Regions from separate parts of the Homo sapiens genome. Here region 2 is linked to region 1. The links are contacts of gene promoters, found by promoter capture Hi-C in human tissues and cell types (Jung and others, 2019). All regions are on one chromosome and are shown on one strand. Each heading gives the region's core, a stretch centred on a gene start or on the middle of the fragment in contact. The rest is flanking DNA. Distances are from core to core; before and after follow the strand shown.

Region 1 (6,307 bases), core at 872-3,371:
AAAGACCTCTGAGTTTGAATCCTGACTTTGCTCCTGTCAAGCAATGAGACCTTGGACAAGCTGCTTCTGACTAGGTCTCTGTTTTCTTATATATAACAAGGAGATAATAACAACTAGGTCTCAGTATTGTTGGGCGCTTTAAATAAGATCATGTAAGCAAGCACTTGACCCCTAACTGGTAGCCATTATTTCCGCCGCAATGCTAAATGCGACCCAAATGTGAAAACACCAGCATGGTCCCCCGCGTAGGGCTCACACTCAAAACAGGACACTCGAGTTTTGTGCTGTTTGGAGTCCTGAGATCTGTGGTTTCCAGAGCCCATAATCAGAGGCCCTTTTCAGCGCCATGCTCAACCCCACTACATTTCTACAAGGTGCTCTCCACTCAAGGTTGCAGGACTAGGGTGTGGAAAGTTGTCACTTCAGGGGAGCTGACAGTGTCTGGGATTGCTGGAGTGGGCAATCTGACACTATCTGGGATTGCTGGTAGGCCCAGGTGCTGAAGATGGGGCTGGAGACAGAGAGGAAGAAGGTGGGGTCCCTGCTTCTGGTGATATTTTCTGTGTGAAGCACAGAAATGCTTATTTGCTCACTGAATGGCTGGCCTGTGCTCATGCTGGGGTTCCTGTCTGCCTCCCCAAGTCAAGCGCAGCTTCTTCTTTTCCCTTCTTGTCACTACTTCCCCAGCATCCCCCCGGGCTTTCAACTTCAATGGCATTTCGATTCCACTTTCTCTACCTTCTCTCCCTTGCCTAAGCCACCTTTCTCTATGCCTGACCCTTATTATCCTCATTCTTCCTATTTTAGAGGCACCCTTTGGTCTAGGCCAGTGGCGATTGACTTTGGCAGCTCATTAGAATCCCCCAGGGAGCTTTAGAACCTAATGATACCCAGGCCGCATGCAAAAAAAATCTGATTTAATTGGTCCTCACTCCACTTGGATTACAGCAGCAGCTTTCTAACTAGTCTCCCTAACCCCATCCTCAATATCCACTCCTGTCCTCCCAGTACAGGCAGAGATATACAAAGCCACACCTTGTGCATCTTCTACACATATCAGCAAAAATCACCTGCCACCTTGTATCACTCTGACAAGCAGATCCAAAATAAGGGCTGTTCATCCTTAAATATGTTGTTTCCAGCCCTTTTCTGCCATATAACTCCTCCTTCAGGGCAGCCTGGCTTGAAATGGGCTCTGTCGATGAAAGGCCCGCTGCTCTCCAGTCAGCCTCTTCTTCTCGCCCCACTCTTAGCTCGCCGATTCATCAGCAACCTGGAACAGTTGCCTTTTCCCTCGGCCTACCTGTGTCCCCCTCCCGATTAATGCCACCTTAATCCAGGTTCTTCACCCAACCCCACATTCCTGTAACCACCTGAAGACAGAGTTGTAGGCAGGTAGACTTGAGGGTCTATCAGATGTGTGGATCCCATTCCCGCATTGGACCACAGTCTCCACTGGGGCAGGAGACATGCATCTGGTTTCCTGTATAGCCCCCCTGGAGGCAGAGGTCAGCGCTGGGGAATATTAGAAATGCTATTTTCCAACTTGCCAAATAGCACCCACACTGAAATAAAGCAATTAAGGGAATGAACACTTACCTTGAATCTTCAAATCAAATATTTTTTCCAACACATTTTTTCCTTTTGTATCATATATTGATACCTTGTAGATATCCTGATCATCGGTCTTCAGATGCTTAATTTTCAGAGTTCCATTTTTAAATAGCTTATATGTATCTTTTTCCTTGAAAGTCTCTTTCTCTTTTCTGAATTGTGCAATCTTTTTCTTGTCTGAAGTTTTTTCCCATTTTATATCGTCAATATCATCACTCATTTGAAAACTAGGAATGTCCAAGTTGATGTCCTGACCCAAGGCACCCCAGGTTTCCAAGGCATTCGTAATCTCTTTGGAGACTGCACCTATAAAAAGCAAAAGAGTTACTGAGAGTCACTTTCAGGGAAAGCTGGGTTGGGACTTCTTTGACTCTTATGCTTACCTTTGGAAGAAACATTGAAAATCAGAAGGAAGCTGGCTACAAATTTACATGGAAAGCTCATCTTAGGGGTTGGTTTCCTCTTTTGATTCTGAGCTCTTCATGCAAAAGGAACTGAAGTGAGACTGGTGGAGTCCACACCCCGAGAGCTTAACCACGTGCCTCTCTTTACATCTTTTACAGTAACATAAAACATAATACACATACACAGAGAGCAAGAGCGCGCACAAGCCAGCCCTTCTGATGTGCTCCTTTGCCAAAGCAGATGTGTTTATGAGTGTGTGTTTTCTTGCTGCATTTTAATTCTCACACAAAAAAATTGGGAAGGATAGGTTTTCTCATCTCAGTGAAAGAGAAAAGGAACAGAGAGGCTAAGTAGATCACTAAGGATCACTCTTTTGTAAACAAGAAGCCAAATTCAACCACACAGCCTTTTATCCACTTAGGTATACTGTCCCTAACAAGACCACATAGAAATATAGGTAAATGTTCACAAGCCAATAGCAGAATGCAAACATTTATCCCATATGATTATATTGAAAAATGTAGACCCATAAAATGATGAGGAAATTGATTTTTTTGTTTCTCCAAAGATATTTTTCATGTTCTAAAATCGTTTTTGTGGTGAAAAGAAAGAAATTGAATATCAGCTGTAAATGCTTGCAATCCCCAAATCCTATGTTCGGCATACATTTTACAACTCTAGTGAAATTCACAGTTAGATAAATAAAAACTTATTCCAAAACAAAGAAGCATAGAGACTATGAAATATAATTAAACTACCAAAACAAAGGAGTCAAAAGCATTTAAAGTGATTAACATTATAGGTGGTTAAGAAAAAGGAGAGATTAGGAGAAAAAATAAATGAGAGGGAACAGGGAGAGAAAAAAAGAACAGAAATTTGTGACACAAGGAAACAGACAGTGATGCAGAGACGGGTGTGCCCTGAAAAGATGCCTAAAAAGAGAAATAACCATGACAGACTTCCAAAGCACATTTTCAGGGTTATAATTCTTTAGGTCACAGTGAGTAAAAATTGCAAAAGTGGTGCTCGTTTTCTTTTTCAACTTTAAGTACAAATATGGATATTATCTGTCAGAAAGTTGCCAAGGAAATGAAATTAAGTCAAAGCAGTTGTTTGCTGTTACTGGGTAAAAGAAAGCCAAATATTTACCTCATGGTTGTATGAGCGTCATCCACAATAATGAACTACAGTTGGATTAAAGTTTTAAATGCAAAAATACTATAATAATGCTAAAAGGAGGCCGGGGGTGGTGGATCACAGCTATAATCCCAGCACTCTGGGAGGTCGAGGCGGACCTCCTCACCTGAGGTCAGGAGTTCAAGACCAGCCTGGCCAACATGGTGAAACCCATCTCTACTAAAAATACAAAAATTAGCCAGGTGTGGTGATGTGCGCCTGTAATCCCAGCTACTCAGGAGGCTGAGGCAGGCAAATTGCTTGAATCTGGGAAGCGGAGGTTGCAGTGAGCCAGGATTGTGCCACTGCACTCCAGCCTGGGGAGCAGAGTGAGACTCTGTCTCAAAATAAATAACTAAATAAATAAAATAATAACAATAATGCTAAAAGGACAATATAGAAAGATATTCCTATAGTTTGAGTATGGAAGGCCTGGCTACATATAACATATAATCCAAAGTAAGAAAGAAAAGATGAACACAACTGATGATATAAAGAAGTAAGATTTACATGCAGATGAAGAAATAAGGAACAAAATGAAAAGGCGTGACAAAATATTTGCAATATATATAAAATTATTAATATTCAAAATATTCTTACCAATAATTCTTACCAATCAATACAAAGTAGTTTTTAAAATGGGCAAATGATATAAATGATCAGCTTGCAGAAGAAATATTTCGCAGAAGAAATATCAAACCTACAAGAGGAGTCTAATGTGACCAAAAATATATGTATATATCTTAGCTATAAAATACCATTTTTCACCATCAGATTGGTAAAATTAGAAAAGATGATAATTTACATTATTAACATGAGTGTGTGGAGAAATGAACCCTCATACAACATCAGAGGGAATGTAAATCAATACCTTCTGGGGAAAGGAATTTATCATTTCCACCAAACTTTAAAATTTATGTCTTTTTCTCACCTAGTGATTTTAATTTGAGAAATCTATCCCACAGAAATGATTGCACAGATGTTTTAAAATTCTGTTCAAGGACGTTTGTTGTAGCATTTTTGTAATAAAAAATTGCAAACAACTAAAATTATGGTATATCCATATTATGAAATATTGTATAACCATCAAAATAGTATAACATAGGCCTAAAAGTAAGACATGGAAAGATGCTTTTGGTAAATCACATGAAAAGAGCACATTGCAAAACAATATCTATAGGATTAGTCCTTTTTATATATGATACTATGTTTATACTATGCTATGGGTATACCAGTATACCATAGCATACTATGTTGTTATTAAGGTATGTGTTGGAAAAAAGCCTGAAAGGGTTGATGCTGAATTTTTTTACAGTGCTTGTCTTTCAGGTATTAGATTGTGAGAGAACTGAAATGAAATTTTCACTTCTTACCTTTGTAAACCAAAAAGAATTTGAGACAGATCTCAATCAATTTAGAAGTTTATTTCATCAACATTAGGGACAAAAAGGAACACAGAACCACAGGAAAAATCTGTGGTTTGTGCCTTTTTCTCAAGATTATTTCAAAACCTTCAGTTAAGGGGAAAAGCTGGCCAGAGGGGAAGGAGGGAGGGTACAGTCACATTACTGAATCCATATGTTGCAAGAGAAAAAAAGTAGGTAGGGGAATGGTCAATTTGTATTCTTCTCATGCTCAGTAAATTGGCACTTTCTTAAGATAAGGTGAACATAGAGTAGCTACCCGTGGAGACAGCAGCTTTTTATCTGTAACTCTCTGCTTAGGAACTCAAGGAAAGGCAGTTTCTTGTGTGACTCAACTTTCAGCTTAATTTTTCCTTTTGGCATAATGAATTGGGGTCCCAGGATTTTATGTTTCTTTCACATTTTATTTATTTCTGTGAAGTTTAAAATTTTGGAAATAAGCACCTTTTTTGTTAATAAAAAATGTCTTTTTAAGAAAGGATGCTTAGGGCACACGTATTTTTTCAAAAGTATCGCCAACCCAGAGGAGCAGCATGGAGCTTCCTGTTTGTGAGTGGCTGACCCACCAGCTGCCATCCAACTCCAGTGTGTCAAGGCCTGGTGGAGAGAAGGTGGCGCCAGCCATCCTCTGACCCATCTCAGCTTTGGAGGGCGCTTGTCCTCTCTTCCTCACACTTTCCTCATGGAGCATGTGAAGAGCAGCTTTCTGTTCCTCTATTTGAAACATTAATTTTGCTCCTCTAAAACTAATTCAATTCTGAGTGATGAGCATGGCTTCAAGGGCAGAAACAATGAAAAAGAAAGAGGTCAGTAGATTTGACTCTGTAAAATGTGAAAACTTTCTATGTAAAAAGCCATAAAAAAATTAAAGACAACGTACTAAAAGGAGCAAATTACTTGCAAGATACATGACAAAGGCATAACAATTTTTTTTTAATTTTAGAGACAGGGTCTTGCTCTGTTGCTCAAGATGGAGTGCAGTGGTATGACCACAGCACCACAGCATACTGCAGCCTTGACCTCCTGAGCTCAAGTGATCCTCCTGCTTCAGCCTCCTGAGTAGCTGGGACTACAGACATGTGGCACCATGCCTGGCTAATTTTTTTATTTTTTGTAGAGACGGGGGGTCTCACTATGTTGCCCAGGCTCATCTTGAACTCCTGGGCTCAAGTGATCCTCCCACCTTGGCCTCCCAAAGTGTTGGGATGACAGGTGTGGGCCACCGTGCCTGGCCAACATTAAATTTTTAGTATTAAATTTTTCTTGTAAACATAGAAAAGATAGACACCTTAAAACTAAAATGGGTCAAAGTCATAAAAGGAGCAATCCACAAAAGAAAAATTTTATTTCTATTTATTAATAAAGAAATGTCAGTTTTAACATAGATGCATTTTTCATCTTCATTTGAAAAATGAAAACATAGTGTTGATGATGGTGTAAATGGGCATTCTTGTATATGGCCAGGAGAATTGCAAGTAGGTATAGTTTCTGGTGGGCAATTTGTCAGTGTGAATTAGAGTATCAAACATTTGTGGATTTCTAACAAATCCACAAGGATGATTTTATCATAAGGAAATAATGAAGGCTATGTACTAGACTTGGCTATAAATTTATATGCTGCAGTATTTTAAAGACAAAATTGGAAACAATTTAAATGTCTAAGAGAAGGAAATTGGTTAAGTAAATCA
Region 2 (6,901 bases), core at 1,174-3,673, 41 kb before region 1:
TTATAACCGTACTGTATCTAGAGAATGTACACACCCAACATAACAATACCAGTTAAGTCTCCACCTGGCCCCCTACACTGGAGTCCATTCACCAGCCTTCTCTGACTTTCTGTGCCTCAGGAAGTTGACCCCTATGGGCTGAAACACCTGCACTCCCTGACCACCTGACTTCCAGTTGGGTTGGCCAATGGGAGGCGCCAACAAGGAGGAAAGAGAAGTTGGAGTTTTCCCACACCCTTTCCTGCTCTTGTGCTCTATCTTGACTGCAGCTGTTTTTCCATGGCTGCTGCTCTCTCCAGGGGACCCCTTCTCTACAGCTGCAGCTCTCATTGGACCCCTTGTCCCTTCTGGTCTAGGAGAGCAACAGCTTCCTGCAGTTCCTAGCCTCTAGGTGCCTCAACATCCCTATTGGCTTCCTTGACCTTGCCTACACTTCCTAAGTGGTCCCTCTATTGAAGTCTCTAGTTGAGCCATCTGAGTGACATCCTGCTTCCTGCCAGTTAACCGACTGGTAGAGAGGTGAACATACAGAAGTCATGTGAAGAGTCATTTTCCACTAAAAACAAGTTCTTACATCGTACTCGTTTTTTGTTATTCAACAAGATGTTCCTGACTTTTCAAAACCTTTCTGCCCAACTTGTTTCCATGAGCTTGTTTCATGGCAGCACCAGTGCTGACATCACATAGCACATGCCTGCCTCACGGTGGATGTTCTGAGAGCTCCTGCCAGCTCAGGGGGCTCAGATCCCTGGGCTGAAGGTACAATAATTGCATTGTGCAGGGGTCCAAGCCAGGTGCTCCCACATCTCAGGGCAGCACACAGAAGAGATGGCTTATTATTAATTCCCAGCCCTTCTCAGAGCTCCAGGTTGCACTCCAGGACCAGCCACAAGCATAGTACGATTTGGGGTGCAAAGAGACGGGTTCTCTGACTGTCCTTGGCATTTTCTTTACATACTTGCTGAAATTCCTAGAAGCCACTAGATTTTTTTTTCATAAGGTTCACATGGCCTAGCAAGGGAAAGCATCAGTGTTGATGGGGCTCAGGACATGCTAGTCCAAAATATTCTAAGCTGAAGGAATTTGAGAAAACAGCATGTGCAGGAAAGTCTCTCTAACCTTCCCCAATCTTCTCCATAAAACGTAGGAAGGATTTTCTCACCTTCCCCTGAAGCAGGTCATAAAACCTTCACATGAGAGGTGAACGGTTCCCTCCCTACACCCAGGGGAAAGGAGCATCCTTGTCCCTGGAGACACAGGGACATGGAGGGGAATCTGAACAACAAGGCTTGCTAAGTTTTCCCCAGTTTTGTCACCATTAATAGTTCCCTTTTGTCCTCCTCTCATATTTCTCCACGATTGTCCGTGCTTCATCAAACCTAGCATGAAAATATTCAGGCTTACCTGTTTCCTCATTTCCTGATGAGGGCTCCTGTGTCATGTAAAATTTATGTTAAATACATTGTTTTTGACCTTTCTTTTTTTTTAATCTGTTTTTTGTTACAGGGGCCTCAGCCATGAATCTAAGTTGGGTCAAGAAAAAGATATTTTTCCTCCCTTACAGTATGAGTGTGTGTGACTGCCTTTTCAGTGAGGGTGTAAATGGTGGTATCTGATCCTGCCCTGTAAGGAAGTGGGAGCACATATGGCTCTGAGACCCTGCCAGGTGGAAAGCACATAGAGGAAAGAAAGCTCCCTTTGAGGAATGGTCCCTGTGAAGACTTCCCCTTAAGAGAAGTTACCCCTGAGGAGAATTACTCCTGAGGAGTGCTCCCTCTGAGGAGAGACTCTGTCAAAAAAGAAAAAAAAAGAAAAAAAAAAAAGAAGAAGAACTTGACGTGTGAAGCATGCAGGAGCTGTGCTGAGTACAACATCCATGTGTCTTGTTTCGGTGGCTATCTTGGGTCTCAGTCCACCTGGAACAATGGACGGGTTGTTGACTAGCTGCCTTGCGGTAATCTCAAGGAGTGCTCCTCCTAAGGAGTGTTCCCCCCTGAGGAATGCTCCCCCTGAGGAGTGCTCCCCTGAGGAGTGTTTCCCTTGAGGAGAGTTACCCCTAAGAGTGTTCCCTCTGAGGAGAGTTCCCCTGAGATGTGCTCCCGCTGAGGAGTGCTCCCCTGAGAAGTGCCCCTGAGAAGTGCTTCCCTGAAGGGTATTCCCTCTGAGGAGAGGTCCCCCTGAGAAGTGTTTCCCCTGAGGAGTGCTCCCCCAAGGAGTGCTCCCACTGATCAAGACTCCGTTAGCCTTTCCAGCACAGATTCTCCTCTGAGCTCCAGGTTGAGGAAAGAGTCCCTTCTCTGGAAGGGGGGACTTTCTGGCTTTAAAAAGGACAGATTTCTCTTCTAACATCTAGGCAGCTCTTGGAGGCTACTAGTGGAGGGCTCCATGGGATTGACAGCTACTTAGGAGGGCACCAGGCCAGCTGCCCTGCATGCCACAGCCTCATTTCCTCTGCTATGGGGCTCTAAGGCCCAGTATATTCTGAGCAGGGCTGGCCACAGGCAGAGCTGTGTACGGGGTGGGTTGCCCCAACTCCCTTCCCCACATTAATCTCCTGCCCCTTTCTACCATTTCTATGCCTTCAGCACCCTTGCCAAAATGCTCTTCCTTCCATACAAAAAGGGCTGCACTCAGCTTTATTCATAATAACCAATTCTTAAAAGCAACCAAGATATCCTTCAGTAGGTGAATGTGTAACCGAGCACGGGTCTGGCTGCTTTGCCACTTGCAAGGTCCAATGACAAGAGTGAGATATGGTAGAAAGAAAGTGACTTTATTAACCAAAACTAGTAAAGCAGAAGTGAAAGTGACCAGATCCCCATCCAAAGTAATCACTTTAAATTTCTGGGGAGAAAACAAGAGTTTAAAAAAGGGAACTTGGCCAGGCATAGAGGCTCATGCCTGTAGTCCCAGCACTTTGGGAGGCCGAGGAGGGCAGATCACAAGGTCAAGAAATCAAGACCATCCTGGCCAACATGATGAAACCCCTCTCTACTAAAAATAAAAAAATTAGCTGGGTGTGGTGGCGCTTGCTTGTAACCCCAGCTACTCGGGAGGCTGAGGCAGGAGAATCACTTGAACCCAGGAGGTGGAGGCTGCAGTGAACCAACATCACGCCACTGCACTCCAGCCTGGCGACAGAACAAATTCTGTAAAAAAAAAAAAAAAAAAAATAAGAGGAACTTGACATGTGAAGCATGCAGGAGTTGTGCTGAGTACAAGATCCATGTGTCTTGTTTGGTTGCTATCTTGGGTCTCAGTCCACCTGGAACAATGGCCGGGTTGTTGACTAGCTGCCTTGAGGTAATCTCTGGAATTTTGCAGCTGGGTCTCCAGGCTTGGTCTTTCTGTCTCAAGATTAGCCCTTGGAAGGCAGCTTTTGATAATTTTTAGATCATACTATATTAAATCCCTGTGTATTCCATAAAAAAAAGATTAGCCCCTGGAACTTCTAAGTAAGAACATATTTAGATACTAGCATACAGTTAGATAAATGCAAAAGGAGTATATGGTGGGAAAGGGTGGGACATAGAGTCTACCTTAAGCTTACAGGAAAAGGCTTCTGCAGTTTGCTTCAAGGTTGTATTTAAAGACTAGGGAGAAAAGAGAAAGGGGACATTTAAAAAAAATGCATTTTGAAGTTAAGCTATTTGGTTACAAATGGATAAATAAACTATAGTAACATCCAGACAATGGAATATTATTCAATGTTAAAAACAAATGAGCCACCGCACCATGAAAAGACATGGAGAAATATTAAATCCGTATTACTAAGCAAAAGAAGCTAATATGAAAAAGTTACATACCATATGACATTCTGGAAAAGGCTAAACTATGGAGAAGTCGAAAAGATCAGTGGTTACCTGAGGTTAGGGGGAAGGAGGGATGAACAGGCAGAGCACAGAGGATTTTCAGGGCAGTGAAACTACTCTGTATGGTCTAATAGTGGATACATCTCATTATGTATTTGTCCAAACCCACAGAATGCACATAAAGAGTGAACCCTAATGTAAACTTTGGATGACAATGATGTGTCAGTGTGGGTTCATCATTGTAACGAATGTACCACTCTGGTGGGGGATGTGGATAATTCAGGAGGCTATGACTTTATGAAGGAAGTGGGTACATAGGAAATCTCTGTATCTTCCTCTCAATTTTGCTGTGAACCTAAAACTGCTCTAAAAAATAAAGTTGTTGTTGTTGTTGTTTTTAAGCTGCACTCTTCTGTGATGATTTGCATTTTAACAGTATTCAAACTCTTAAACCAGAGGTGAGCAGCCTTCTTTGCATACCATTTATTTTCCATGAAATGAAAATGCAAGGAAAACAACATAGATTCTCAAGACTTGGAATACTTGCTTTACTGAATAAAAGAAATGTCAATGAGGAAACTGTCATGGCTTTTTAGTCACTAACAAGTTAGTATCTGGACATTCATCCTGAAAATCATTCACCAGTCTGGTGGTTCTTCCATGTAGATCTCAGTCCTCAAGTTGCTCATCACTGCTTCATGCTGAAAAACATAATGTTTTTGTTTGTTTGTTTGTTTGTTCGTGACAGGGTCTGGCTCTGTTACTCAGGCCGGAGTGTGGTGGTATAATCATGGCTCACTGCAACCTCTGCCTCCTTGGCTCAAGCAATCCTCCCACCTCAGCCTCCTGAGTAGCTGGGACCACAGGTACATGCCACTACGCCCGTCTAATATTTTTGCATTTTTAGTAGAGATGGGGTTTCACCATGTTGCCCAGGCTGGTCTTGAACTCCTGGACTCAAGTGATCTGCCCTCCTCAGTCTCCCAAAGTGCTGGGATTACAGGCATGAGCCACGGCATCCAACGCAACATGAAGCTTTAATAGTGGCATTTCGGCTGGGCGCGGTGGCTCACGCCTCAGCACTTTGGGAGGCCGAGGCAGGCGGATCATGAGGTCAGGATATCGAGACCATCCTTGCTAACACGGTGAAACCCCATCTCTACTAAAAATACAAAAAAAAAAAAAAAAATTAGCCTGGTGTTGTGGCGGGCACCTGTAGTCCCAGCTACTCGGGAGGCTGAGGCAGGAGAATGGCGTGAACCTGGGAAGCGGAGCTTGCAGTGAGTCAAGATCGCGCCACTGCACTCCAGCCTGGGTGACAGAGCAAGACTCTGTCTCAAAAAAAAAAAAAAAATAGTGGAATTTCAGGCCAGGCACAGTAGCTCATGCCTGTAATCCCAGCACTTTGGGAGGCTGAGGTGGGCAGTTCAGGAGGTCACGAGATCGAGACCTTCCTGGCTAACACGGTGAAACCCCATCTCTACTAAAAATACAAAAATTAGCCAGATGTGGTGGTGTGCGCCTATAATGCCAGCTACTCAGGAGGCTGAGGCAGGAAAATCACTTGAACCCAGGAGGCAGAGGTTACAGTGAGCCGAGATCGCGCCACTGCACTCCAGACTGGGTGGCAGAGCGAGACTCCATCTAAAAATAATAATAATAATAATAAATAAATAAATAGTGGAATTTCAGTTATCAGCCAGTGGTATGGAGCCACTTAGGGGGCAGCAGGATTTACTAATCTCTCAGAAATCACACCAGTGGGCTCTCCTTGGACCTGGTCCTGAGACACAGATCTTTGTGAAGCATAGATGGAGATTTTCTTCCACATCCCTAACTAAAGCTTCTAAGAAAATCCTGCCCCTGAGAGGTAAGTGATATGACACACTGCTGACAAGTGCACTAGTCCCTAAGTAGCAGGAATTTCTGTTCTTTTGCTCCTCCTTGCTTTCTTAGAGAAATGTGTTTTTATGGTGTAACCAACAGTCACAGCTGAATCCCTTTATCAGCTCTGCAAGGGCAGGTGATGACACAGTGACCAATCTAGGTCACAGGCACCTTGTCTCTTCCTGTCCAGGTTTGCCTCTCCTAATGGACTTATTGGTGTGGGGTTCATTTATTCATTGGAACACTCACTGGGTCTGTAACAGTCTTACCTCAGGTAACTCTGGTGGCACTGGGCTATTGCTGATGTTAGTACTCTGTTTTATTTTTTTGTTGTTGTTGTTGTTTATTTATTTTGTTTTTGTATTTGTTTTTGTTTTTTTAGACAGTCTTGCTCTGTCATCCAGGCTGAAGTACAGTAGTATGATCTTGGCTCACTACAGCCTCAACCTCCCAGGCTCAAGTAGTCTTACCACCTCAGTCTCTCAAGTAGCTGGGACTAAAGGCATGGATGCACCACCATGCCCAGCTTATTTATTTATTTGTTTATTTTTTGTAGACACCAGGTCTCACTATGTTGCCTAGGCTGGTCTTGAACTCCTGGGCTCAAGTCATCCTCCTAGCCTGGCTTCCCAAAGTGTTGGGATTATAGGCATAAGCTACCACACCAATCTTAATGTTAGTACTATTTTTTTTTTAATTTCAGTTTATTTTGTTTATTTATTTATTTCTATAGGTTTTTGGGAAACAGGCAATATTTGGTTACATAAATAAATTCTTTAGTGGTGATTTCTGAGAATTTGGTGCACATATCACCCAAGCAGTGTACACCGCACCCAATGTGTAGTCTTTTATCCCTCACCCACCTCCCACGCTTTCCCCTGAGTCCCCAAAGTCCATTGTATTTTTCCTGTGCCTTTGTGTCCTCACAGCTCAGCTCCCACATATGAGCGAGAACATACAATGTTTGGTTTTCCATTCCTGAGTTATTTTACTTAGAATAATGGTCTCCAATTCCATCCAGGTTGCTACAAATGCCATTATTTCATTCCTTTTCATGGCTGAGCAGTATTCCATGGCATACATATATCTACTCGCTGATTGATGGGCATTTGGGCTGGTTCCATATTTTTGCAATTGCAAATTATGCTGCTATAAACATGTGTGTGCAAGTATCTTTTTTGTATAATGACTTATTTTCCTCT

What was found. The method cuts DNA at HindIII sites, captures the fragments that hold promoters and counts their contacts. A contact is called where the count stands out against the background at its distance.
Region 2: a fragment that was not itself captured here is called in contact with the fragment with the promoter of CD2 in region 1 in 3 of the 25 tissues and cell types used here (bladder, lymphoblastoid cells and thymus).

What each region holds. Positions count from the first base shown.
Region 1 is chr1:116,750,244-116,756,550 of GRCh38, reverse strand. It overlaps CD2 (CD2 molecule), which reads right to left and starts at 2,121. Exons shown (of 5, transcript NM_001767.5): 1 at 1,998-2,121; 2 at 1,600-1,920. The coding sequence starts at 2,058. RefSeq lists promoters at 2,004-2,446, 2,004-4,601, cis regulatory regions at 3,505-3,534, 3,872-4,371 and a silencer at 3,368-3,871. The HindIII fragment of the contact is 12,515 bases long and covers 1-6,307 here.
Region 2 is chr1:116,790,862-116,797,762 of GRCh38, reverse strand. No RefSeq gene overlaps it. Among named protein-coding and RNA genes, the nearest start is that of CD2, 40 kb to the right of the region's middle. The HindIII fragment of the contact is 8,196 bases long and covers 1-6,521 here.